Regions from separate parts of the Homo sapiens genome. Here all the other regions are linked to region 3. The links are contacts of gene promoters, found by promoter capture Hi-C in blood cells and fetal thymus (Javierre and others, 2016). All regions are on one chromosome and are shown on one strand. Each heading gives the region's core, a stretch centred on a gene start or on the middle of the fragment in contact. The rest is flanking DNA. Distances are from core to core; before and after follow the strand shown.

Evidence for each region. Contacts are between HindIII fragments. The CHiCAGO score rates a contact against its expected background, and 5 or more counts as called.
Region 1: a contact is called between a fragment that was not itself captured here and the fragment with the promoter of PAFAH1B2 in region 3, in 7 of 17 cell types (total B cells, total CD8 T cells, monocytes and 4 more). The highest score is 7.5, in total B cells.
Region 2: a contact is called between a fragment that was not itself captured here and the fragment with the promoter of PAFAH1B2 in region 3, in 3 of 17 cell types (total CD8 T cells, total B cells and naive CD4 T cells). The highest score is 6.4, in total CD8 T cells.
Region 4: a contact is called between a fragment that was not itself captured here and the fragment with the promoter of PAFAH1B2 in region 3, in 1 of 17 cell types (total CD8 T cells). The highest score is 5.6, in total CD8 T cells.

What each region holds. Positions count from the first base shown.
Region 1 is chr11:116,960,035-116,963,484 of GRCh38, reverse strand. All of the region lies in intron 1 of SIK3 (SIK family kinase 3), which reads left to right. Among named protein-coding and RNA genes, the nearest start is that of APOA1, 120 kb to the right of the region's middle. The HindIII fragment of the contact is 1,887 bases long and covers 1,038-2,924 here.
Region 2 is chr11:116,931,180-116,934,713 of GRCh38, reverse strand. All of the region lies in intron 3 of SIK3 (SIK family kinase 3), which reads left to right. Among named protein-coding and RNA genes, the nearest start is that of APOA1, 95 kb to the right of the region's middle. The HindIII fragment of the contact is 4,518 bases long and covers 1-3,534 here.
Region 3 is chr11:117,142,807-117,146,563 of GRCh38, reverse strand. It overlaps PAFAH1B2 (platelet activating factor acetylhydrolase 1b catalytic subunit 2), which reads right to left and starts at 2,277. Exons shown (of 6, transcript NM_002572.4): 1 at 2,146-2,277. RefSeq lists an enhancer at 1,018-1,197 and a silencer at 1,748-2,067. The HindIII fragment of the contact is 2,379 bases long and covers 538-2,916 here.
Region 4 is chr11:116,997,696-117,001,527 of GRCh38, reverse strand. All of the region lies in intron 1 of SIK3 (SIK family kinase 3), which reads left to right. Among named protein-coding and RNA genes, the nearest start is that of SIK3, 99 kb to the left of the region's middle. The HindIII fragment of the contact is 1,264 bases long and covers 1,356-2,619 here.

The DNA.
Region 1 (3,450 bases), core at 732-3,231, 180 kb after region 3:
CTGCAATTGCTCTGATGACCAAGGAGATGTGTGGTTGTATACACGTGTCTTTTAAATTTTTGTCTTAATTTCTGATTTTTAATTTGATTTCTAAGCAAATATTGAAAGATATTACTCACATAATCAAAACTTCTTTGAAGTTTCTCCTAACTTTTAAGAGAAGGAGTCCTGAGACCAAACAGTTTGGGAACTGCTGTCTTAAGGCTGTAAGACTTAATTCTCTGAGAGAACCCCTCCTGGGAATGGCTGCACACAAGGGCAGTACAGTAAACCAGTCAGTTGCTCAATAGACATTTTAAAAATTGAATTAAATTGAGCTCCTAGAATATAACTTTTGAGACCTTATTTGAGATTTTCTCCCAAGGCAATGTTTGAGCATTGAGAGCCTTGTAACTTGGGCCAGGTTTCTGTGAGATAGACAGTTGGCAATTCTCAATATCAAGTCAATGATTTCAGAAGTCATTTTCAAGGAATACGTCCTTTAACTGGTAGATTAATTATGTAGCCTGTTGGCATTATGTGGATCAGTGCCGTCCAAGAGAAAGAGGGCACATATATTATTTACAATTTTTAAATAATCATATTAAAAAAGTAAAAAGTGGTGAAATTAGTTTTAATATCTTTTGTTTAGCCTAATATATCTAAAATATTATAATTTCCACATGTAATCAATATAAAAATGTATCAGGGAGATAGTTTAATTCTTTTTTATATTACTATCTTTGAAATCTGGTATATATTTTACATTTATAGCGCATCAGTCTGGATAGTTACACGTGGCTGGTGCCTACTGTATTACACTGTACAGATCTAGATCATAAAATAGTTGTAGAGCTGAGCCGAGAATGTTCTAGAGTAGATAAGCTTTGTCATAAAAATAGAGAATAAAAATTTTGCTACAGAAGTTAGTATAAAAACATAACCCCATTGAAAAAAGCTTACAATGACAAAATGTTTGATATCTGCCTAAATTCTAAAGACATTTCTAAAAGAAATAGAGCTCTTTCCTTAAAACAAATTTTTTAAAAAAATAAGCTTTTCTTCAAACTGTAATGTTTTCTCTTTCCTTCTAAAAAGCATGCAGTCTGCTCACTATATTCTTTGAAATTACTGTATGTTCATCTGCATACCAGTGTAAGGAGATCCTCTTTCTCGTCTTGGAAGAATTTGAGCCCTTGTGATCTTTGCATTTCCCTCCTACGTAGTTCTTTCTTGAACTGTCCATTTGTCCTGGCATATCCCTGAATCCGTACTATCTGCTATAGGGCATTTATTTCTGATGGGGAAGGGTGGTTTGTTTTGATCTTAATGCTGAACTGTCCCTTAGTTCATTGTCTTTTACTCTGTTGCCGTATCTTGCTTACAAATATGGTGTCAGAATATGCAAGTGAATTTATTGCCTGTTGTGAAGAAACCACTATTTTTTTCAGCTTCATTCACTATGAACATTATTGTGCTTACAAAAGTGAGTTGAGTTAAAAAGAACTGTGTTTTTTAGAAGTGAGAATTAAAAGGGAGAAATAGTAATTTTTCCTCTCATAGAATGAATAATAAAGAACTATGACTTTAAATTTGGCATGATCTAAATTTAATTTTTTTCCTACCACATGCCAATTGAAACAGAAGAATTTGTTGAATGGGAATGTCTTGAGTAGGGAAATTAAGGACTCTCACAATCTGTTATCTCTTTAGTAGCATACTTGATACAGTGTCATGTTTAATTAATATTAGAATGTCAATTTACAAAATCATGCTCTTTGGAAGATAAAAGAATTCTGTGTAGAACAGGCAAACTTAGGAAATATATGGTCTCTTGGTAACATGTTGGAAGTTTTCTGCTTTGTTATAATTTTCATATGTAAGTACAATTAGGAGATTTATAGATTTTCAACCCCAATATAATAACATTCTTTGAGAGTTTATCTTTTCTTTACCTACTGATTTACCTTTGTTGTGGACACATTCAGTTTTTCAAGCAACTGGTGTGTACTTTACACCAAAACCTTTATTATATAGTCTTCAGTAATCTGTAGCTGTGAAACTCATACTCATTTATCTGTTTAGATATTCTCAAAACAATCATACCTGTGTGCCAGCCACCTGCTGTCTGACTTGGCAGTTTCTCTGTTCCAACTTTATTTTTCTGCTTTTTAGAAAACTCCCACTTTCCAGTTTGCAGCTAAGGTAGGAGCTGAGTTCCTTTCCCTGTTAAGTGGTCTTATCAGGCAGTTATGCCATTGCCAAGCAACAGTAAGTTCTCTCCTCTCAGGTGTTAGCTAGTAGGTAGGGTTGGCAAGGGGAGCCTGGCCTGCTGTGAAGAAGTAGACCAGTGTCTCTCTGCCACAGCCCTCAGGGTCGGGTCTTGCTGTGGGTTCCATCCTATGGCTCACTGTGACTTTCCTGAATGGAATGCGTTTATTTTTTTTCCAGCTCTGTTCTTTCCATGTTCTTCCCACATCAGCTGGCGGCAGCCAGTTGGTTCTGAATGCTGCCCACAAATTGTTAGCTATTTTGCTTCTTGGTCCCTCAATTTGTCCCTTGAATAAGGAATTGATGTGTTTCAGATCCAGGATTATGTTGCTTAGTGAAGCAAATCTAATCCTTGCCAAGGAATGCCTAAAGTTGAAGGCTTGATTCCAGAAGAAAATAAAATAACAACAGCACTACCTGTAATTAACATATATTGCCTGTTTACTGTGCCAGGCATTATATTAATCAGGTTGCATGTATTAGCTTTGTTAATCCCCAAAATCACTTTAAAGTAGGTTCCATTGTTGCCCACATTTTACAGATAGGGAGCCATTGGAAAATTAAGTAACCTGTTCTAGGTTATATATTAAGGGATAGTTCCAAGATTTTGAATCTAAGTAGCTTGTCTTCAGAGTCCTTGCTTTCAGTACTATATTCAACTGCTAAATAAAGCTTCACTTTGGTTTTTTTGTTTTGTTTTGTTTTTTTGTTTTGGAGAAAGTGTCTCATTCTGTTGCACAGATTGCAATGCAGTGGCGTGATCACGGCTCACTTCACCCTTGCTAGGCTCATGCAATCCTTCTGTCTCAGCTTCCTGAGTAACTGGGACTACAGGCACACACTACCACACCTGGCTAATTTTTTTATTTTTTGTAGAGATGAGGTCTCACTTTGTTGCCCAGGCTGGTCTTGAACTCCTCGCCTCAAGCCATCCGCCTGCCTTTAACTCCCAAAGTGCTGGAATTACAGGCGTGAACCACCGTGCCTGGCCCAAAGCTTCACTTTTCAATGTCTTCTGGAATCTGAACTCTCACTGAAGAGTAGACAGGAGTTTGATGTTTTAATCTATTAAAACTTCTTTGTACGTGCCTTCTAAGAACAGATTATATTCAATGCAATTTTTCCTGAAAAGATGAAGTACATTTGTTTGTAAAATTCATGTATGTATGTATTTATTTATTATAGTACATATTTATGGGG
Region 2 (3,534 bases), core at 366-2,865, 210 kb after region 3:
GTGTGAACCACCATGCCTGGCCTAATCTATAATTATTAAGTATCCATCATAGGCAGAGTACTATTTTATGTGTAATAAGGAGGCATAGAAAAAAATAGTTCTAGTTCCACATTTTCAAAACTAAAGCATATCCTGTGATAATGTGTTTCACGAAGAAATTGTGTTGTCTCAAAACTCTCAGGGAAAAAGTTTAGTTTATTTGGAAGAGACAGAAGAAAATTTAGTATACTTTTTGCTTGTATGCCAAGTACAGACTTGGATATATGAAGACAGGTCATATATGTTAGTGTGCCTTTTTAGATTAGTTGGGAAGACTCTTGAATTCATTGAGGTGAGCAATAGCATTTAGCATTCATTTTGCTAATAAAATCTAAGGTTCAGGAAATAGTTTTAATAAACAGGGATAGGAATGTATTCAATCATCTTTTGTTCTTTTAATAAATACTTATTAAGTGCTTAATATGCGTCAGATACCGTTCATTGTACTAGACACAGTATTGAACAAAATGGCAAGAATGCCTGCCCTCATGGAGCTTGTTTTCTAGTGGAGAAGACAGATAGTACACCAACTAAGTAGGGTAGAATGTGTCATTTGTTAGAAAATGATAAAGTGCGTAGGGGAAGTGAATATGAAATTGAAATATCAGGAGGTAAGCTGACAATAGAGATAGGAAAGACCTCTCTGAGAAGGTTATACTTTTGTAAAAGATCATGCAGCTATTTGGGGAGGAGCATTCCAAGTAGAAAGAATAGAAAGAACAAAGGCCCTGTGGCAGGAGTATTTCTGCTGTGTTTGAGAAATAGCAAGGTGGCATATGTGATTATAGTAGAACAAAAGAGCCAGTGAAAGAAGGTAAGGTCAAAGGTCATGAGCTGGGAACCCATCCGGAGGTTTTGACAGAAAAAAATGATGTGATCTTATTTAAGATTTAAGAGAATTACCCTGCTACATAGAAATGCAGACTTAATTGTTTGAGTGTAGGAGTTTGAGGCTACAATGAGCCATGATTGGGCCACTGCACTCCAACATGGGCAACACAGCAAGACCTTGTCTCTTGAGAGAGAGAGAGAGAGAGAGGAAGGAAGAAAAGAGAAAATGCAAACTTATATTCATATAAAATTCTATACACAATTGTTTAATTGTTGATAGCAGCTTTCTTTGTAATAGCTAAGAACTGGAAACAACCAAAATGTCCTTCAGTAGGTGAATGGATAAGGAAACTCTTGTACATCTATTCCATGCTGTACTACTCAGCAGTAAAAAGGAGCAAATGGGGCCAGGTGCAGTGGCTCACGCCTGTAATCCCAGCACTTTGGGGGGCTGAGGCGGGTGGAGCACGAGGTCAGGAGTTTGAGACCAGCCTGGCCAATATGGTGAAACCCTGTCTCTACTAAAAATGCAAAAATTAGCCGGGTGTGGTGGCGCACGCCTGTAGTCCCAGCTACTTGGGAGGCTGAGGCAGGAGAATCACTTGAACCCAGGAGGTGGAGGTTGCAGTGAGCCAAGATTGCACCACTGCACTCCATCCTGGGTGACAGTGAGACTCTGCCTCAAAAAAGAAAAAAAAAAAAAAAAGGAGCAAGGTTAATAGACACATCAACTTGGATGGATCTTAAGGACATTATGGTGACTAAAAATATCAGGCCAGTCATGGTGGTTTATGCCTGTAATCCCAACACTTTGGAAGGCCTAGGCAGGAATATCACTTGAGCCCATGAGTTTGAGACCAGCTTGGTCAACTTGGTGAAACCCTACCTCTAAATAATTAGCTAGGCATGGTGGCAGATGCTTGTAGTCCTAGCTGCTTGGGAGGCTGAGGTGGGAGGAGGTCAAGGCTGCAGTGAGCCGTGATCTTGCCACTGCAGTCCAGCTTGAATGACTCTTTCTCAAAAAACAAACAAACAAAAACAAGAAAATAAAAAAGCCAATCTCAAAAGGTCGCCGACTGTATGATTCTGTTTATATAGTGTTCTTAAAATGATGAAATTACATAAATGGGAAACAGATTAGTGGTTTCTAGGAGTTAGGGATGGTGGGGCATAGAGGAACAAGCATGACTGTGTAGGGGTAGTGCAACGGAGATCTTTGTGGTGGTGAAATATTTTTGTATCTTTTTTTGATACAAAAAATTGAACAGGGGAAAGGCAAGATCCGTTTACACATGCAGGCATATATGTGAGAGTACTCAGTAATGACTGAGTCCGAATAGTTGTAATTGCTATTGTAGTAATTGCAGTTGTTGTTCCACAAATCTACACATGTGATAAAGTGACATAGAACTATACATACGCATTGTACCCATGTCAAATTCTGGGTTTTGATATCGTTCTATAATTATATAAGATTTAACCATTGGCGGAAACTGGGCGAAGGGTACACGGGACCTCTCTGCACTGTCTTTGCAACTTCCTGTGAATCTATAATTATCTCAAAATAAAAAGTTTTTAAAAAAAGATTACTACCTTGGCTGCTCTTTTGAGGAGTAATCCTAGGAGGTTATTGCAGAAATCTAGGAGTGAGGTAGTTGCTGTTAAATGAGGCTGGTGGCACTAGAGTGGAGTGAAGGCAGGGGTGAGAAATAGTTGGATTCTGAATATGATTTGAACGTAGAGTTAATAGAATTTGCTGATGGATAGGATGCAGGGTGTGAGAGAAAGAGAAGAATGAAAGATGCCATAAAAGTTTTTGGCCTGGTCAATGGAGGAGCAAAGAAAAGAGATAGTAACAAGAAGCAGCAACAAGTCAAGAAGCCCGGTAAGAGGTAGTTGGATTCTTGGCAAGAAAGACAAAATGACAAACCCTCTTCCTCTAGTCAGTGGCAGCCACGCCTGGGAGTTAGAGGACAATAGGATATTAAAGTGACTGCACTCTTATTAACCTGCTTAGGGGGAGCTGAGTTATCTTGGCCTCGCCCTGCTTTTTTGGAAAGAAGCGTTTGTTTGATAAACAGGAAGTCGTTTCCATGGGTGTAGGAAGAAGAAATGATAGAACTGAGTGGCAAAGCAAAGAACTACTAGCTGTGGTTAGTTTGGAATTGGCAGAAGTTTTTTCAGGTAGTCACCTAAGATGAAGATGAGCACACATACTGCCTTTTCCCTTTTCTAGGCTGGGTTCATTCTTCACTGAAATGTGGTATTTCTGCCTATTGCTTGTCCTGCTGTCAGGGTATGTTCATTTTCAGCTAGTGTTTTGCATCAACTATGAGTTGTAGACTTAGCAGACAAATGGAGACACTGTCTGTTTAGAGTGGAAAAGTGACTTATTTTAAGAAATGTTGGCTCCGCACCACTATCCCATTAGTGGCATACCTCTGACACTCCATTGAAGCTGGCCTAGGGAAGGTAAGACTGGCTTCTGTGTATTTTTGCTCTTTGAAAGGTCAGAACCTAAATGTACCACAAGATATTTTCTTCCTGAGTAAGATTGGGACAAAATTACAAACAGTGAATTCTGAAGCAAACTTACGTGCTGGTGCTCTAATACTTTAGAAAATTCAAAATCGATTTCCTGTACTTCTAACAATATTACTCTTC
Region 3 (3,757 bases), core at 1,028-3,527:
ACGCCACCACACATGGCTAATTTTTAAATTTCGTAGAGACGAGGTCTTGCCATGTTGCTCAGGCTCCAGCTGTTGTATTCTTTCCAATTGAAACGAAGAATTATCTGCTCTTATGGACACATAAAATAAGAACGAACTAAGAGCTACCCAGTGGTAAGACGCAAACTTCTGAGTGACTTTGGGTTTCCTGCGCCTGTTATCCCAGCACTTTGGGAGGCCGAGGCGGGTGGATCACTTGAGGTCGGGAGTTCAAGACCTGCCTGGCCAACGTGGCGAAACCCCGTCTCTACTAAAAAAAAAAAATACAAAATTAGCTGGGTGTGGTGGCACATGCCTATAAGCTTGAACCGGGAGGCAGAGGTTGTAGTGAGTAGAGATCGCGCCACTGCACTCCAGCCTGGGCGACAGACTGAGACTCCGTCACACACACAAAAAAAAAAAAAAAAAAAGAAAGAAAGACCAAGCAGAATGCAAATAAAAGGTCTGAAGAACAAGTTTTGTTAATTTGCCACAACAGACTGTACTCCAGGGGAAGCTTTGTTGTCCATTAAAGTGAGTTCTCTGGGAAGACGAGGAGTAACCGACTTGCACGATTTTCCTGCCTTTTCTATATTCTCTACTTACTATGACAATACAGCACTAGAATTTCCAAGTGCTTATACCAGCATAGTGCAATGTATTTAATGAGAAACCACGTCCAACAACAAAGCGTTATAACTTCTCCAGCTGAGTTAGATGTTTTAGTCTGAACCAGGAAAACAGATGAAGAAAGTTGAACCAAGAATTAAAAGATTTAGAGTTTCCACTCAGACCTAAGACTCTCCACTTTGTTTCAGAGGGAGTGGGTATGGTTATTCTGAAGAAGAAGGCGGCCCTTATCCTGAATGCCCGGTAGCCTCCGTGGGCTGGTGGGTGGTTCCTCCGGTCCAGCACCTCCATAATTTATGATCAAATGCCCAAGCCAACAAACTAATCCTCCCCTTCTCCCCCACAAGGAGGCAACCTTTATGTCAGAACAATGTGCCCAGAAGAAGCCAAAGACACAAGGCACATCCAAGGCAAAGACAATCTTAATTAAGCACTTTCTCCTTCCACTTTCTCCACACCTTTACCCCCGGCCCAACCCCTTCCCATAATTTCAAGCTGTACAAAATGAGGTCCTAGGGTGGATCCGGGTGGTCTTTCCTTTCTCTACGGGTAAGCTCTACAAAGAGGCGAAAGCTCCGAGTGTTAGTTCTTGTTTGTGTATAAATTCTGAAAAGCAACGCTGGCCTGCGAGCTATGAAAAGCAGAAGCATGAGTCACCACGCAACGGGTCAATCAAACCTGTAGACCAGAAGGCACGGATCTGGCAAACGGACGGTGAGCCAGGAAAAAAACATCCCCCCAAACCTCTCCGCTGACAGGTTTATCTAGCTGGCTGACCTTGGGCAGGTCACCAGCCGCTCCGAGCACATTCATGTCTAAGATGAGATGGGGGCTGGAAAGCCTTCCAAGAAATAATCCCTTCCGAGTGGTGACGGTCTATGCAACTTTTGAATAAACACATCCTAAGAGGCAACGGAGAAGTTTCTAAAGAGTTGAAATTTTTCAACAAAAGGAGGAGGGAAAAGTGCTCGGTAAAAACACAACGGAGTAACTGGTTTTGGCCTCCGACCAGACGCGAGGGGAGAGAAGAGTGAGAAGTTAGACCCCTGTGATAAAGGGAAAAGGCAGCAGCGGAGACCCGGGCAGGAGCTGCAGCGCCCAGCCGGGGCGAGCTGGGGTGCGCAAGGCCTACCGCGGGTGGGCCCGGCAGGGCAGGGCAGGGCAGGGCGGGGCGGGGCGCCCGCCGCGCTACCCTCCTGGGAAAGGCCGTGGAGGCGCCGGCCGGCGGCTGAGGAGAAACGCCAGCTTTCGGTATGGAATATCGGGAAAGGGCTCTCAGAGCGAAAACTAGCTGCGCCGGCTGCTGGGAAGCCGACGCTGGGCCCGCAGAGAAGGCGCGCGCTCGCGAGGCCCCCCCCAAGTGGATGGGGCGGCGTGGGGGGAGGGGCCGCAAGGGTGGGGGAGGGGAGGTCGCGGGCCTCTCACAATAACACCTCGCAGCCCCTTCCGACCCCCGCCTCTAAGCCACCGGTTCCCTGCGACCCTGGATGCACTCACTGAAGTAGAGGGTCCGTGCGGGCCCCAAGCGGCTGAGGCGTCGGCGGGTGGCGCGTCGGTCGCTCGCTCGGTCCCGTCGGTCCCGCTCCGGCGCGTCCCTCCTCCGGCCCCAGCACCAGCAGCAGCTCCTCCACTTCCGGTTCCCCTGCCACTCAGCCAAATGGCTTCCGGAAGTCCCGCCCCCATCCTGCCACGCCTCAGCGTGGTTCCTCTCTCCCCGCCTTCGCTCTCCCGGGCGCTGGCGGCGTGCGCCCAGGTGTCCCGCCACACCCCGTTGGGTACCCTGCTTTGTTCTCGCGGTTACCCCCATTTTGTGTGGCGTCTGAGGGACATGGGCTTCTCTCTTTACTCCAGCTGCATCTCTCAATCCTGCGTTCGTGCCACCGCAGTGTGGAGCTGGCATTCGGGACGATGTGGCGTGAAGTCACACTGACGCCATTCCCTTCACACTCAGCCAACTTGGCTTCCTCTTCCACCCATGGAATAAACCAGACTGCTGAAAGTGGGAGGGAAATAGCGGACCAAGGTTAAGGAGGCAGTACCTGACATTTATTAGTGGAATTTCTGTTTCTATGATGAATGTGGAGATTTTGGGTGACCGCCTGTAAAGGTGATACATAGGGGGATGACGAACCCCAGGCTTTTCCTTAAAAGATACATCCAGTTTAGGGGAAGACATACATATACAAAGTCAATATTGAAAAGATTATATGCTAAATAAATGCAGGATCTATAAAAGTAGAGAGGAGGGGCAAGAGATGTGCTCAAGCTTATAGCAGCGCAACGGTTGCTGGAGCAGTGCCCTGAACTGGCCCTTTAAGGATCTCAGCTCTATGCTGGTGAATAGGCAGAGCCTTCCAGGGCTCTTAAACTGATGCGGGGGTGGGGGTTGATTTTGCTGACAAAACCTGTTAAGAATACTGTAAAATCCTGGGAGCCTAAAATGTCAAGATATGTCAAGTAATTTTTCTTTTTTTTTTTTTTTTTTATTCAAGTTCTAGGGTACATGTGCACAACGTGCAGGTTTGTTACATAGGTATACGTGTGCCATGTTGGTTTGCTGCACCCATCAACTCGTCATTTACATTCCGTATTTCTCCTAATGCTATCCCTCCCCCAGCCCCGCAGTCCCCGACAGGCCCCCGTGTGTGATGTTCCCCGCCCTTTGTCCAAGTGTTCTCAGTGTTCAATTCCCACCTATGAGAACATGCGGTGTTTGGTTTTCTGTCCTTGTGATAGTTTGCTGAGAATGATGGTTTCCAGTTTCGTCCATGTCCCTGCAAAGGATATGAACTCATCCTTTTTACAGCTGCATAGTATTTCGTGGTGTATATGTGCCACATTTTCTTAATCCAGTCTATCATTGATGGACATTTGGGTTGGTTCCAAGTCTTTGCTATTGTGAATAGTGCCACAATAAACATACGTGTGCATGTATCTTTATAGCAGCATGATTTATAATCCTTTGGGTATATACCCAGTAATGGGATGGCTGGGTCAAATGGTATTTCTAGTTCTAGATCCTTGAGGAATCGCCACACTGTCTTTCACAATGGTTGAATTAATTTACACTCCCTCCAACAGTGTAAAAGTGTTCCTCTTTCTCCACATC
Region 4 (3,832 bases), core at 738-3,237, 140 kb after region 3:
TTATTTTAAATTTTTTTTTTTTGAGATGGAATCTTGCTGTGTTGCCCAGGCTGGAGTGCAGTGGGGCGATCTCAGCTCACTGCAACCTCCACCTCCTGGGTTCAAGTGATTCTCCTGCCTCAACCTCCCAAGTAGCTGGGAATATAGGTGCACACCGCCATGCCTGGCTAATTTTTGTAGTTTTAGTAGAGATGGGGTTTCACCATATTTGTCAGGCTGGTCTTGAACTCCTGACCTCAGGTGATGCACCTGCCTTGGCCTCCCAAAGTGTTGGGATTACAGGCGTGAGCCACTGCACCTGGCCTCAGATTACTTTTTATACATTGAAAGATGACCTAGAAATTAGTCAAGACATTAATTTAGATAGTCATACAGTCAAGTGACATAAACCTCAGAGAAGAGGAAGGTTTCCGTGCTATCGCCCCACCCACTAGAGTGGAAGAACTTTGAGGGAGATAGAATAGTGATATTATAATCTAGTTCCTATAGATAAAGAATGTTTGCCAAGAAGGTTAACTTCTGTAGCTGAGCTCCTTTGCTGAGAAGATGAAGGAACACTGTTTAATGGATAGATTTAGTCTGTGATTCTCTGTGGAGGTGATTACTGTCAGTTCTCTTTATCCTAGCAGCATTTGGAAAACTGCAGCTAAGCAACCCGTCGTCATTTCCTAATGTTACTATAATCTGGTGTCAATGACTAATGATCTCATTGGGCTAGTTATTCCCTTCCAGCGATGCTGGCATCAGGAAGCACATTAATAGTCTGTAAGAAATGCATTCATTAAAAACCAGGTAATCACTTTGGAGCTGGTCCTGGCAGTGTCTGAATAAATTGGACAAGTTAGAGAAAATCTTGAACCTGAAAGCTACTTTGTCTTTCAGCTTGGTTTGGGCAAGGTAGGAAGAGATGAATCAGTTATAATTTGATGGGATCTAATGTTACTTTTATAAGATACATCACTTTAATATGATGCTTCATCATTAATGTTTTAGTAATCTGACAGCATTAGACAGAATTGATATTCCCCTTATTTTATTATTTCTTGGCTTCATGACAGAACTGTGCATTAAAAGGCACTTAAGATTTTAAAAGGGATATCTAAGAAAGTGGTTAAAAAACAAACAAATCCCAAGTGGCTTGATCTGACTTACAAACTCTAACAATGTGTAGCTAATTGCAGATAGATTTTATTATTCACAGTATTGTGTCAAGTCTCCTGTGCACATCTTCTGTATTGGAGCATAAGTAATGGAGATGTTATCTTGCCCAACATTAGGTTTGAGGAAGTCGTTTTTAAGACAGAAATAGTAGAACAGTGTTATTCCATACTGTACTTTCCCCTTTTATATAAGCTTGCTAAAATTAAGGTTGGGCAATAGGCCCTTGAGCTAAATGTGACCTGATAGAAAGTTTTAGCAACAATGAAAAAAATTATAACTATCTAATATACATATCTAATATTAGATATTTACCTTACTTACATATCATGCACAATCAAACAAATGGCAATTATAACTACATTCTTTTTTACTTGCCATAATGGAAAAACTTTATTAAACAAATTATGCCCACTGTTGCTCTGGGATTTGGGGACTAGGTAGGCATGATTTCAATGGAAAATAATTTAGTAATGGTATGTCTCAATAATGTATCAACAACCTGGAAAGTATATATTCTTTGACTTAGGATTTTCATTTCTAAGAATTTGTCTTATAGAAATAATAGTAGGTCAAAACAAGAATGTAGTCATAAGAGTATTTACTGCAATGTTGTTTAGAAGAGGGAGAAAACAAATGAAAATGGGCTGGGTGCAGTGGCTCACGCCTGTAATCCCAGCACTTTGGAAGGCTGAGGTGGGTAGACCACTTGAGGCCAGGAGTTTGAGACCAGCCTGGTGAAACCCCATCTCTACTGAAAAAACAAAAAAGAAAAGAAAAGAAAAGAAAACAAAATGCCACAAAAAACAAAGAGATGAAAATGAAAAGAGATCTCACAAGACATATGAATATGTTGCACTTCAAACTGATGCAAACAGGTGTCCATCTAAATTCAATAGTGGGCAGTTAGAATTTGAAACTTAGTTGTCATTGATGATTGCCCTGTGCTCAGAGGAATCACAGATTAAAAAAATTTTTTTTAGAAAGAATTGAAGTTGAGTTTCAGAAAAGTCAGACATTTAAGTTTACAACCGTAGTTGGAGTGCAAACACATATATGTCTTAATTACAAAATGTCTGTTCTGTTAGTACAACTTAGCATAAAGAAGAGATGGACCTACAAGTGAAGTATATCAACTGATAAGAAACAAAATGCTTTAAAACTTTGGATTCAAACCTATGATTCCAGAACTGTTCTAACATTTTAAACAATATGGTCAAACTCTAGGCAAGTTTGGTTCCCTTGTGTTTGTGAAACTATATTTTTCATACATCTTCTGAAGTAAAAACTAAACACTCTCATTAGTTGTTTAAATCTGGAATTGGATTTGGAATTTGCCTTGATTTTATATACCTTTGTTCTTGAGGCTACCTGTATTTGTCAGTTTTATCTTAACTTACTCAAAATGGGTCACTTAGTAAAAATAATTGTCTAACTATACACTTTTAGTTTGATTAAGCTTTTTGGATTAGTTTGGGATTTTGACTAAGTTTCTATATTTGTATGATCAATAATTTCATACTTATAGTAAACAAAAATTTATATATCTGTACTCCTATAGATTTATGATTCTGTGGCTCTAAAAATTTCAGTGCTCTTAGAGTTGTGGAAAGAGCAGAGCACTAGATTAAATGAAACCTCTGTGTGCCAGGCCCTAGCTGGGCTTTCTCGAGGCATTAGAGTGATAAAGTTGGTTGAGGAAATGGTGAAAGCCATACCTTTGTCCTGCCATTTTTTTTCTTTATGAGATCATGGTTGAAGTCCCTGACTCTCATGATAGTGAAATTGAGATTTTAAATATTTGTTTCTCTTTACATCCCAAATCCATTATAGCTAAGAGGAGGAATTTCAGATATTTTTCCAAGAGCGGTTGTCAATTTTTTTTTTTTTTTTTTTTTTAAGACGGAGTCTTGTTCTTTCGCCCATGCTGGAGTGCAATGGCATGATCTCAGCTCACTGCAGCCTTCGCCTCCAGGGTTCAAGTGATTCTCCTGCCTCAGCCTCCTGAGTAGCTGGGACTACAGGCGTGCGCCACCATGCCTGGCTAATTTTTTGTATTTTTAGTAGAGACGGGGTTTCACCATGTTAGTCAGGCTGGTTTCAAACTCCTGACCTTGTGATCTGCCTGCCTCAGCCTCCCAAAGTTGTCAGTATTTTACTTACTTTTCTTTCCTTGCATATTGGAATAGCTTTTTTTTTTTTTTAAATTATCATATACACTACCTGTGGAGGTAAAAACATAAACTGTTGTTTTCTTGGAGGCTGAGGCAGGAGGATCACTTGAGCCCAACAGTTTGAGACCAGCCTGGGTAACATAGCAAGACCCTGTCTTTATAAAAATAAAAAGAATTACTGGGTGGTGTGCACCTGTAGTCCTAGCTACTTGGGAGGCTGAGTCAGGAGGATTGCTTGAGCCCAGGAATTTAAAGCTGCAATGAGCTATGATTATGGCACTGCACTGCAGTCTGGGTGACAAAGTGAGACCCCATCTCTAAGAATAAAATAAAATGGAATTAACATTCACTGTCAACAAAGGCACTCTTGTGCCGTTTTTGTCCCCTTCTTGACTGTCCTGGTCGTATGAGATCTGTTTTTCCTCTAAATTCATTGTATACTATTTTCTTTACATTGTACATTTGGCCATCTCTGGGAAAATGTTAAGAATGTTAATGTT